Linked DNA regions of Homo sapiens: all the other regions are linked to region 1. Evidence: promoter capture Hi-C in 16 types of primary human blood cells and fetal thymus (Javierre and others, 2016). All regions are on one chromosome and are shown on one strand. The core of a region is centred on a gene start or on the middle of the fragment in contact, and the rest is flanking DNA. Distances in the headings are between cores, read along the strand shown.

Evidence for each region. The method cuts DNA at HindIII sites, captures the fragments that hold promoters and counts their contacts. A CHiCAGO score of 5 or more calls a contact.
Region 2: the fragment with the promoter of PRPF18 here is called in contact with the fragment with the promoter of ACBD7 in region 1 in 1 of 17 cell types (total B cells); the score reaches 7.3 in total B cells.
Region 3: a fragment that was not itself captured here is called in contact with the fragment with the promoter of ACBD7 in region 1 in 1 of 17 cell types (total B cells); the score reaches 5.7 in total B cells.
Region 4: the fragment with the promoter of RSU1 here is called in contact with the fragment with the promoter of ACBD7 in region 1 in 5 of 17 cell types (fetal thymus, neutrophils, activated CD4 T cells and 2 more); the score reaches 9.2 in fetal thymus.

Annotation. Positions count from the first base shown.
Region 1 is chr10:15,087,516-15,090,215 of GRCh38, reverse strand. ACBD7 (acyl-CoA binding domain containing 7) reads left to right here and starts at 1,440. Exons shown (of 4, transcript NM_001039844.3): 1 at 1,440-1,499. The coding sequence starts at 1,488. It overlaps ACBD7-DCLRE1CP1 (ACBD7-DCLRE1CP1 readthrough), which reads left to right and starts at 1,440. Exons shown (of 8, transcript NR_144471.1): 1 at 1,440-1,499. RefSeq lists a silencer at 1,266-1,655. The HindIII fragment of the contact is 6,812 bases long and covers 1-2,700 here.
Region 2 is chr10:13,585,584-13,588,537 of GRCh38, reverse strand. PRPF18 (pre-mRNA processing factor 18) reads right to left here and starts at 1,573. Exons shown (of 10, transcript NM_003675.4): 1 at 1,386-1,573. The coding sequence starts at 1,451. RefSeq lists enhancers at 508-1,103, 1,279-1,618. The HindIII fragment of the contact is 3,512 bases long and covers 1-2,954 here.
Region 3 is chr10:13,781,136-13,784,107 of GRCh38, reverse strand. FRMD4A (FERM domain containing 4A) reads left to right here. Exons shown (of 25, transcript NM_018027.5): 6 at 1,102-1,186. Among named protein-coding and RNA genes, the nearest start is that of PRPF18, 200 kb to the right of the region's middle. The HindIII fragment of the contact is 4,685 bases long and covers 1-2,972 here.
Region 4 is chr10:16,815,947-16,818,902 of GRCh38, reverse strand. RSU1 (Ras suppressor protein 1) reads left to right here and starts at 1,479. Exons shown (of 9, transcript NM_012425.4): 1 at 1,479-1,588; 2 at 1,819-1,930. The coding sequence starts at 1,822. LOC105376435 (a long non-coding RNA gene) reads right to left here and starts at 1,204. Exons shown (of 3, transcript XR_930708.3): 1 at 1,147-1,204; 2 at 161-222. RefSeq lists enhancers at 861-910, 941-1,030, 1,061-1,170, 1,841-2,000. The HindIII fragment of the contact is 3,392 bases long and covers 1-1,548 here.

The DNA.
Region 1 (2,700 bases), core at 191-2,690:
CTATTTATGCGAAGTGTCGGAAATTAGCTTCTCATGTGACCACCCAATTCGGTTCCAGTCCTTTGGAAATGTAATCCTATTCGGTGTGTCTGCAGACTTGGAGTGACATTGGGTTTGTTCCCCTAGAAAACTGAGTCAAATTGAATAGGCGTTTAGTCCTGTGCCTTTACCATAATTAAAAACAAGTTAAGCTGATTATAGCATGTGTCCAGAATTTAGGTGGTTTTGCTTTATAAAGAGAAGAGGTGCAAACCACAGGCCACTTTCTCTCATGATAAACAGCGCCTGGAGGCAGCGTGGAGGAGACACATCCATCATCCACGTTTCTAGGAATAATGGACATGAGAGAAGTATGTATAAAGAAGGAATCCTGTGCTTCGGGAAGCCGAGGTGGGAGGATCGCTTGAGGTCAGGAGTTCGAGACCAGCCTGGGCAACCTAGTGAGACGCCCCCCCCACCACCTCTCTTAAAAAAAAAAAAAACACATATATATATATTTTTTAATTTGCACTTTTAATTTATAAAATTTTTAATTTTTAACATTTTAAATATATATAAATTTATATATAATTTTTAGAGAAAAAATATATAATATATATATACCTAGGAAGACCCCAACCTCTGAAAAAAATTTATATATATAAATTTTTAATTTATAAAATTTTAAATACATATTTACTTATTCTTTTTTTTTTTTGAGACGGAGTTTCACACTTGTTGCCCAGGCTGGAGTGCAATGGTGCAATCTTGGCTCACCACAGCCTCCACCTCCCGGGTTCAAGCGATTCTCCTGCCTCAGCCTCCCGAGTAACTGGGATTACAGGTATGCGCCACCACACCCGGCTAATTTTGTATTTTTAGTAGAGACAGGGTTTCTCCATGTTGGTCAGGCTGGTCTCGAACTCCCGACCTCAGGTGATCTGCCGGCCTCAGCCTCCCAAAGTGTTGGGATTACAGGCGTGAGGCACCGCGCCCGGCCAATACATATTTACATGTATAAATTTTTTTAAATTGAAAAAATTACATATGTATTTTAAGAGAGTTGGGGCGGGTCTCTCTAGATAAATATATATCTCTCTCTCTATATATATATATATTTTTTCTCTCTCTCTCTCTCTCTCTGTCTCTCTCCTTCTTTCTTTCTTTCGAAGGCATTCCAGGGGAGGCCTGTGCCCTACGGAGACCTCTCTGGGTTTCCTGCAAAGAACCGCTTGAGAAAGAATAGAAGAGAGAGCCAAGAGCGGAGAGAAACTCATTTAAATTCTCCTGTCTTCGCCTTTCCATTTGCAGCCTGGGGAACCCGGCGTGCAGTACCGCTCACCGCCCAGCCTCGCCCCCGCGCCCGCGACCAATGGGAGGCGGCCGGGCCGGGAGCGCGGCCAATGGCAGCGGCCGGAGGAGACGCGGCCGTTTAAGAAGCGGTGGGTGCGAGAGGGGGCAGAGCACCGGACGACAACAGCAGCAGCAACAACGCGGCAGCCGCCACCATGGCCCTGCAGGTACCCGGGGCGCGGGGAGGCCACGCGGGAGGGGCGCTCCGCGAGGGGAGTGCTTAAGTGGGGCTCCGGGTGGGCTTGGCGCCCCTGGGAGCGGTCGGCGGTGACCCGGGGGACACGCCCACTCCTTCCCCAGCGCCCCAGATGGCAGTGTAGACCGCACCTGTGCCTGCTGACGGCGAGCCAGGGCTCCCAGGGCAACCCTTCCGGACCCCAGGGGCCGGGTGAGCGGAAAAGCAGGCAAGGCAGGAGCGCCGGGGAGCACGGAGCGGGCCTCCTCCTCTCCGTCTCCGAGAGGGAGTCGAGATCCCCCGCTCCCGCCCCTTCGCTCGTTGGGACCTCCAGGACCTCTCTTAGTGTCATACTGAGCAGAAGAGATCTGTGAGGCTCCAATTTAAAAATACTGTTTTATAGGTATGTGAAAAAAATTGTTAAGGGTGGAAAACTTTGGAAAAGACAACAAATATAAAGTAATAATTACTGATAATAATCCAATGATAATTCCTTCACCCAGGTGATAATCACTGCTACATGCTAGGGTAATTCCTAGTATGTCCTAGTATGTTATTTTCCATGTGTGTATGTGTGTGGCATATATCTACACACATACCTATGATGTTATTGTGTATATAGTTTTATTCCTACACGTAAAACAGTAATATGAGCATTTTCTCATTATTAAATATTCTAAAATGTAATTTTATTTTTCTTTTTTGAGACAGAGTCTCATTCTGTTGCCCAGGTTGAGGCGCAGTTGGTGCGATCTCTGCTCACTGCAACCTCTGCTCACTGCAACCTCCACCTCCCAGGTGTAAGCGATTCTCATGTCTCAGCCTCCGCAGTAGCTGGGGTTACAGGTGCACGCCACCACGCCCGGCTGATTTTTGTAATTTTTTTTTTTTTTTTTTAAGATGGAGTCTCATTCTGTCACCCAGGCTGTTTGAGATGGAGTCTCACTCTGTCACCCAGGCTGGAGTGCAGTGGTGCAATCTCAGCTCACCGCAACCTCCGCCTCCCAAGTTCAAGTGATTCTCCTATCTCAGCCTCCCAAATAGCTGGGATTATAGGCGTGCGCCGCCACTCCTGGCTATTTTTCTCTATTTTTAGTGGAGATGGGGTTTCGCTGTGTTGGCCAGACTGGTCTCCAACTCCTGACCTCAAGTGATCCACCCGCCTTGGACACCCAAAGTGCTGGGATTTCAGG
Region 2 (2,954 bases), core at 324-2,823, 1.5 Mb after region 1:
GTGGCACGATGATAGCTCACTGCAGCCTGAACTCCTGGGCTCAAGCGATCCTCCCGCCTTGGTCTCCCAAGCAGCCGGGACTAGACGCGCGCACCACCACACCTGGCTAGAAGGAATTTTTTTTTTTTTTTGAGACGGTGTCTCACTCTGTCGCCCAGGCAGGAGTGCAGTGGTGCGATGTCGGCTCACGGCAACCTCCGCCTCCCGGGTTCAAGTGATTCTCTGGCCTCAGCCTCCTGAGTAGCTGGGATTACAGGCGCGCACCACCACGCCCAGCTAATTTTGGTGTTTTTAGTAGAGACGGGGTTTCACCATGTTTGCCAGGCTGGTCTCGAACTCCTGACCTCAGGTGATCTGCCCACCAAAGTGTGGGGATTACAGGTGTGAGCCACCGCGCCCGGCGGCCCTTCCTCCATGTTTCAGTTGGGCACAAACCCTTCGTAAGGCGACAGAAGGGAACTCTCAGGAGCACTGGGGCACGTCCGCAGAATGCCAACAGGTAGGAGCGGGGATAGGGGGCAGTTAGGTAAACTGGAGGGAAACAGGGTCAGTCGGGGGAAAACAAACAAAGCCTCGGGTTTTCCTGCAATTCCCACACCTGCATCCCTAAGGCTCCCAAGTGGTTACCGGAAAGAAGGCCGTGAGTGTAAGTTGCCCGGGTCCTTGGCGTTTTGAACAAAGAATTGGACAAAACGCACAAAAAAAGTAACAAAACACAGGAATGAAGCAGCAAAAGTAGGGACTTATGAACGCGAGAAAGCACTCCACAGGGTGTGAGTGGGCCCGAGCAAGCGGCTCGAGGCCCCGGTTACAAAGTTTTCCGGGTTTTAGGTACTCCTTCTGAGGTCCCTATCAGCTACCCCGTATCTGGATGAAGGGTTCGGTCTGTGGCTAAAGACTGAGGTGAACTGGCGCCCTATGCAGATGAAGGGATGGCCCGTGATTGGCCCACGGCCAATGCAGGGCACGTTCCCTTCCCATCTGAGAGGTGGTGGAAAGGCAGGGATGCGGGGAGAGCCGCAGCCTGAAGCCTTTGCTACTCGGTGGTGGGAAGATGAGGATTTTTCTTTTGGTTTGGCTTTTGGACGTGGGCGTTAATTGGCCTCAGGTTCCCGCCCCCAGACCCAGGTGTTTTCCTTTTGATCCAGCTTTGGGAAGTCAGCACGAATTGTACTCAAGTTCCCTGCTCTCAGACCCTATTCTCCAGCCTCAACAGTGAGACGCCAAGGGTTGGATCTAAGGGGGCCTACCAGGGGTAGTGGCAGGACACTCGCTAAGCCCCGTCCCCGCCCCGAATCCTCTGAGTATCGTCACCCTCACCCCAAAACCCCGACACACATACTCTCACTCTTACATCCCGACCCCCACGACCGCAGGGTCCTCACCACCAGCAGGTTCCTGTCCTCCACCAGCTGCCGCTTCCGAAGGATCTCTGATTTCAGAATGTCCATCTCGCCGCCAGAATTTAAGCTCCAGTTTCCCGCTCCAGCTCCTCGAACCCAGCCTCACTGGGCCGGCGGCCGCGAACCCACTGAGTATACGGAACAACAAGCCCAAACACCTGAGAACAACTGACAGGAGCCGCTTCCGGCGGAAGCTGGGATGAGAGAGATGAGGGAAGAGAGTGGCCCGGGGCGCCTGTGGTGGCCAAAGCAGCTGTGCGTGAGTGCCCACTGGCGGCGCCCTCCGGCAGCGCGCCTGTAGTTTCCCCTCGTAGGGAGGTTTACGTGAACGTGGACGGAAACCCGGGTCTTTGTAGTACTCTCTGCACCTGCTAGTTGAGTTCCAAAAGCCTCTCGAAGAACACCTCAATAATGCCAGTTAAATCAAGATCTTTATTAACTGGAAATTTACATTAGGGTTTCTGAAGTTACTTGCTTGCAAAATTTGCAAAAGGATGAGAAAAATCTAAACAATAATACTAACTTGTAACAATAGAGTGAAAGGGCTGTCTGTTCATTACTAGCCTGTTAAATTTCCTGTGAACTTAAACGACTACAACCATTTAAAGCAGTTTGGAAGTCAATTTATCTTCACTCCCTCTGTTTTAGATTGCTTACCAATCTTGGTGATAATTGAACATTTACCTCAAGCTAACTAATCATTTTTTGGTCATGTGTTCAGCAATCAAGATTTTTCAGTGACATGATTGGAGATGTAATCAGAAATTCCTTTTTTTTTTTTAAATCCAACCCAAGGGAAAAAAAGTTAAATTGAAGAGAAAAATTATGTCAGAGATTTTTTAAGTCCCTAACATTTGTTTACAGTGGACTTATTTTTTTCATGTCATTGAAGCACGTTTAAAAATTGTTTTTGTGAAATCATAATTGAACAATATTTGACATTTCGTTTTTCTTACTCAAAAAAGGTAAGAAATATCATTTTGTTGAGTCAGCTGATAATGGGTAAAATGCTTTACAAAACAAAAAAATGAACAATTGAATTATTTCAATTTAGAAAGTCTTTTGTGGGGGGTGATACTTCATCTAAAAGATATCTGAGGCCAGACGGGGTGGCTCACCCCTGTAATCCCAGAACTTTGGGAGGCCGAGGTGGACAGATCACCTGAGGTCAGGAGTTCAAGACCAGCCTGGCCAGCATGGTGAAATCCCGTCTCTACTAAAAATACAAAAATTAGCCAGGCGTGGTGGCAGGTGCCTATAGTCCTAGCTACTCAGGAGGCTGAGACAGGAGAATTGCTTGAATCCGGGAGATGGAGGTTGCAGTGAGCCGGGATCATGCCACTGCAGTCCAGCCTGGGTGATAGAGCAAGACTTTGTCTCAAAAACAAAACAAAATAAAATAAAATATACCTGACTTTTGCCAGAAATAAGCCAACACAGGAAAATGTCCTTGAACTAAATATGGCAACACTCTTGCATGAATATGGGTTTCCCTCACTAATCAATGAGCAAATAATAATTTATTAGCATTTTCCTGATTTAGGGATTAGG
Region 3 (2,972 bases), core at 54-2,553, 1.3 Mb after region 1:
TACCCAGCACCCTCCTAGTCCACCCTAAGGGTTGCTACACCTGCTCAGAACCTTCTTCCCTCCAAGATGTTGCATTTCAACCTTTCCCCTCTCTTCCTTTCAACTCCTAGTCCTTCAGTGCGGCTGGTCATTAGACAGTACAAGCGCATTATCTCATTAAAGAATTTAATAAACTCCAAAGTCAATATTATAAAGGCACATTTAGTGTAAACTTAAATAATGGCAGCATGTTTCATCTTGAAAATATCTATAAGCTCCATCTAGATGAAATCCGATTCTCATTTGGCTTAATATGCATTCATATCACAGTGTTAAGAGCACTTAGCATAGCTCTCCGAATGTGCAGAAATCAAATCACACTTCACCACCTTCGGGAGTAGTAGTAACCATTTCAAAGAAAGCTGTGATTAAGAAGAAATTATCTTTTAAAAATCCAACTTGGCTGGGCACAGTGGCTCACATCTATTACCCCAGCATTTCGGGAGGCTGAGGTGGGCAGATAATTTGAGCCCAGCCTGAGCAACAAAGGAAGACTCCGTATCTACAAAAAAAAAAAAAAATTAGGCGTGGTGGTATGCAACTGTAGTCTCAGCTGCTCAGGAAGCTGAGGCGGGAAGGTTGCTTGAGCCTGGGAGGTCAAGGCTGCAGTAAGCCATGCACCACTGCACTCCAGCCTGGACAACAGAGCGAGACCCTGTCTAAAAAAAGAAAAAAAAGGAGAAGAAAAGAAAATCCAACTCAATGACAATTTAGGACAAACAAGCAATGTGATGAAAACAAATAACATTATGTAAAATTATAAAGCAGATAGGACAAAGAAATCAGAGGCCTAGTTTTAGAATTTGTTCTTACAAATTGGTGGTAGACCCAGTTCTTTGGTTATGGTGAGGCCCATTAGGCGTGACCCTAAGCCACTATCAAAACTCCAAAAACAGTTTGTCCTCCCTAGGGAATCATAGAAAAACCATGGATGGTGCCTTTTTCCTTTGTTTATTTAGGATGGGGAATGCCAGCTTTCATCTCAAATCATGTAGCTCAAGAGAGCACTTTATTTTCTGCACCTGCTGTTTCTGTGGTTCACGCACCATTTTTCTCTTTCAGGTTCTATATAGAAAGCATTTCATACCTGAAGGATAATGCTACCATTGAGCTTTTCTTTCTGAACGCGAAGTCCTGCATCTACAAGGTAGGAACTCCCTCTCCCTCAATTTCCCTCTGAAACCTGAAAGTATCATTTGAAGCTGGAAATTCCAAAGTGTTACCCCTTAGGCCATTTTATTGATTAGGAGAAGTCATTTATAAATTAATTACTATAAATAAATGGAATGTTATGAAGCTAACGGCACCATTTAATAATGTGATTCCTGACCCGGCGCGCTGGCTCACGCCTGTAATCCCAACACTTTGGGAGGCCGAGGCGGGTGGATCACGTGGTCAAGAGATTGAGATTATCCTGGCCAACGTGGTGAAACCCTGTCTCTACTAAAAATATAAAAATTAGCTAGGCATGGTGGCACATGCCTGTAGTCCCAGCTACTTGGGAGGGTGAGGCAGGAGAATTGCTTGAACCTGGGAGGTGGAGGTTGCAGTGAGCTAAGATCACGCCACTGCACTCCAGCCTGGTGACAGGCGGAGACTCCATCTCAAAAAAAAAAAAAAGGAATAATAATAATAATAATAATAATGTGATTCCTTTGATCCATGGCTGTGTTTCTGGCTCTGTGGACATGTTTCCTAACCTTATTTTAAAGGTCTCCTGATTTTAAAGATTTCTTTGTCAACTGAGACAAAGGTGAAAAGCCTAGACAAGTATGACAAATGCACCAGTCAACTTAGACAGGTCTTGCAGATAGGAATGAGCTTCTTATAACCAAATACGTGTATATTTGACCATTTTTAGTTGGTCTAGCAGCATCTTTCAAAGGGACGCTATTGTCACTTTGAGACAGTTTCTTTTTTAAAAAAAATTGTAAAATGCACATACATTTACTATCTTAACCATTTTGGAAAATATTTTTATATTTCCATAGGTTTTTGGGGAACAGGTGGTATTTAGTTACATGAGTAAGTTCTTTAGTTGTGATTTGTGAGAATTTGGTGCACCCTTCACTCGAGCAGCATACACGGAAGTCAGTTTGTAGTCTCCGCCATTTTTAAGTGTGCAGTTCAGCGGCATTCAGTACACTCACAATGTTGTATAACCATCCCCACCGTCATTCACCCAAGAGCTCTTTTCATCTGCTAAACTGAAACTCTGTACTCATTAAACAACTTCCCCTTCCCCGTTTTCCTCAGCCACTGGCAACCACTACTTTTTGTCTCCATGAATTTAACCACTCTAGTACTTCATATAAGTGGAATCATATATATTTGTCCTTTTGTGTCTGGCTTACTTTACCTAGCATAATGGCCTCAAGGTTCATCCATGTTGGCTGTGTGTGGTGGCTCATGCCTGTAATCCCAGCACTTTGGGAGGCCGAGGCAGGCGGATCACCTGAGGTCAGGAGTTTGAGACTAGCCTGGCCAACATGGCGGAACCCCATCTCTATTAAAAATACAAAAATTAGCCAGATGTGGTGTTTTGTGTCTGTGATTCTAGGTATTTGGGAGGCTGAGGCAGGAAAATCTCTTGAACCTGGGAGGTGGAGGTTACAGTGAGCCGAGATCATACCACTGCACTCCAGCCTGGGCAACAGAGCAAAACTCTGTCTCAGAAAAAAAAAAAAAAAAAAAAAAAAAGGTTCATCCATGTTGTAGCGTGTATCAGAATTTCCTTCCTTTTTTTTTTTTTTTTTTTTTTTAATTTTTAAGACAGGGTCTCTCTCGCCCAGGCTGGAGTTCAGTGGTGCAATCTTGGCTCACTGCAACCTCCACCTTCTGGGTTCAAGTGATCCTCCTACTTCACCCTCCTAAGTAGCTGGGACTACAGGTGTGTGCCACCTCACCCAGCTAATTTTTGTATTTGTTTATGG
Region 4 (2,956 bases), core at 230-2,729, 1.7 Mb before region 1:
AATTAGATGAGGAATGGGGTGTAATCAAGTAGCACCTCCCCCCAGCATTATTTTTAATCATAAAGAAAAAAATAGTAACTTTATGGTGAAGAAACCTGGCAGACACTACCTTATTTAAGTGAACATCACCTATACTGGGAGAAACCGATGCCATCTGTACCTTGATATCATGCACTGGAAAAGACACATCGCTTTAGTGGTGTTTCTCCAAAAATTCATAACCTGAAAGGGAACATCAAACTTACTTTGAAGGATATTCCACACAATACCTGGTCTGTATTCTTAAATAATGTCTAGTTCAATAAACATAAAAGCCAAGGACGGTTCCAGATCAAAGAAGACTAATGGAGGAATAACTCTTTCATCTGGAATGTTTTTTAAGCAAGAAATACCTGCTTTCGAATTTAAGAGTGCAGATCCTTTTTTTATCCAATTGGTTCGGAGATATAATTACATTATTTTACCACATCTCCTTAAGGCTTTGATCCCTGCTACAATCTACAATATATAAATGCATATGTGTGGCATCCGTCTTATCATCAATTTAGGTGACCAGTAGAAGAAAAGTGCCTGGTGCCAATTTTTATTCCATAGTATAAAATAGTCTCTCAGGACAGGGTTTTTGGTGAGAGAAGCACAGGATGTTGCTGGGTGACTGAGACTGGGTCAGGAAATAGGGAGGCAGAGGGCAACAGTTTCTCTAGAATTTAAAATTTGGTTGCTTTTGGAAGAGAAAGCAAGAGATTCCTGGAAGCCAGAACGTCATGTTTCACAAATGTAAAAGTCCTAGTTGGGAAAGACACATCGCTTTAGTGGTGTTTTCAAATGACTTTTAAAATAGTAGGGTTTTACTTGTAGGTTCTAGCTACAAGTAAAAAGGCTAAAAGCCAGCCTTAGAAACCTGTCAAAAAAGATTTCCAGCAGGGCGCTGGGGAAACGCAGACCGCGCCGGAATCCCCGCCTGGAGAAGCTCTTAATAGGGCGGGAAACTGCGTGCCCCACAAGGTCCCTCAGAGGCACATTGTGGAGACGGGCTCAGGGTAGCAACTTCTGGCGAGTGGAGCGGCTATTACACAAGCGAAACATTCGGAAGCAATTTACTTCCAGCTTTCGCAACACCCACCCTGAGCCACCACCCTCCCTTACACAGTCACGCCACAAACTTCCCCACTTCCGCCCACAGCCCTCTGGGCTTCGACCCATCAACTGAGCTTGCGCCAAGTCTACTGCGCACGCGCCAACTTCGGCCCAATCAGCGTCCCAAACCGTGGGGTGGACGCCACCGGGATAAACTATCCTCAGCGTGGGGCGGGGTCTCGAAGCCGAATAACGAACGTGATTAGCCAGCCTCTTCCACAGACTTTTAAGGGCGGAGCCTGGCCCTGGAGACACGTCTGGAGAGCTGTTCTCCTAATATGGGTAGGGTCGGGCGTGGAGCTGGCAGCGGCGCTGTGTGCGCCTGCGCGGGGCGCCGAGACAGGGCGTGTTCGCTGTTCAGTGCCGGTGTTGCAGGGAGTGAGGGCAGCTGGAGTGCGTTCTGCCGAAGCTTGTGGTTGCACGCCCATCGTCTTAGGGGCTACCTTCCGTGGTGAGTGTGTGCGGTGTTGCACTTGGGGTTGCTTCTCGCTGCGTGGCCGCAGCGGGGCTGAACCCTTCCCACTCCATCCCCTCCCCGCACCCGGACCAGCCCCTGGGACGCCCTCGGACGCCCACCCGCTCCAACCCTGGGGAAGCCTCAGAGTGGCAGCGAAGGCCTCTTGCCTTTCCGCCTCTGCGCTTGCTGTCATCGCCCACGTGCTTTGTTGTTGTTCGGTGCAGACCATGTCCAAGTCTCTGAAGAAGTTGGTGGAGGAGAGCCGGGAGAAGAACCAGCCCGAGGTGGACATGAGTGACCGGGGCATCTCCAACATGCTGGATGTCAACGGCCTCTGTGAGTTCTCGGGCAGGACTCTCCCGTGGATGAGCTGGAAGGCTTTCTAAGTTTGCCAATTCACTGCTGGTCCTGCTGTGAGCGATTGTACTGGTTTAGACCCCAGCCCCTGCTTGTAAACCTCACTTGTCAGGGGCTTCGCGCAGAGGGTTTGCAGTAGGATTTGTTCTGTTCCACCTGGAAAACGATCCTGAGAGTCCACGATGAGAATCACACAGACAGCTGTGCCTCATCGGTTGTCTCTGCTGTATGGCATTGAGGTGGATTTTCCACAGTTTGCTTAATAGTCACTTTAATTATAAATTGAAAATTAATTTTGAGTCCTTCTTCCTGTCTCCTAATACAGTCTTTGTCCATGAACAAATGACACAGAAAAGTTCCATGGTTAATAAGCATTCTTGTGCCTGGAGCGTTTTAAGCATTTCTTGAATCTTTACATTCTTCTGAGTATTTATTCTCCGAACTTGGTTCAGGCTTTTGTCACCTCCTCATGCTGTGGTGAAATCCTCCTAACTTGCCCTCTTGCCTTCAGTTTCACTGCCCAGTTTAATCACTGGGTCACTTTCAGTGTCATTTTCCTGTAACCCCTGTCTATGGTGTTACCCTCTCCCTTAAAACCAGGGATTGCAGATTCACATGCCTCCAAGTGAGGGCGGTCAGGGGCGGTTATGAACTAGGTGATAGGTGTCCCACTTGAAGGGGCCAGCTGCTGCACCTGCTACTCAGACACATGTCACCATAGGAATGTTGGCCCAATGTGCCAGATTATTTTCTTAAAGGAACCAAGATTCTATATTTTTATGTGAAATTTGCTAATTTTTAGATGTTGGCTACTAATTCTAATATTTGAAAAACCTGTGATAAGTGAGCTAAAGCAGTTCTTCAGGCTGACGTGGCTTTGGTTTAAACCCTCTCCGCACTTCTCCAGGTTGTCCATTATCGACGGTAATGCTCCAGGTTTCTTGGCGTGATGTACAAGGCCTTTCTGAATCTGAACACAACCTTACCCTTCCATGCAGCTGGCAT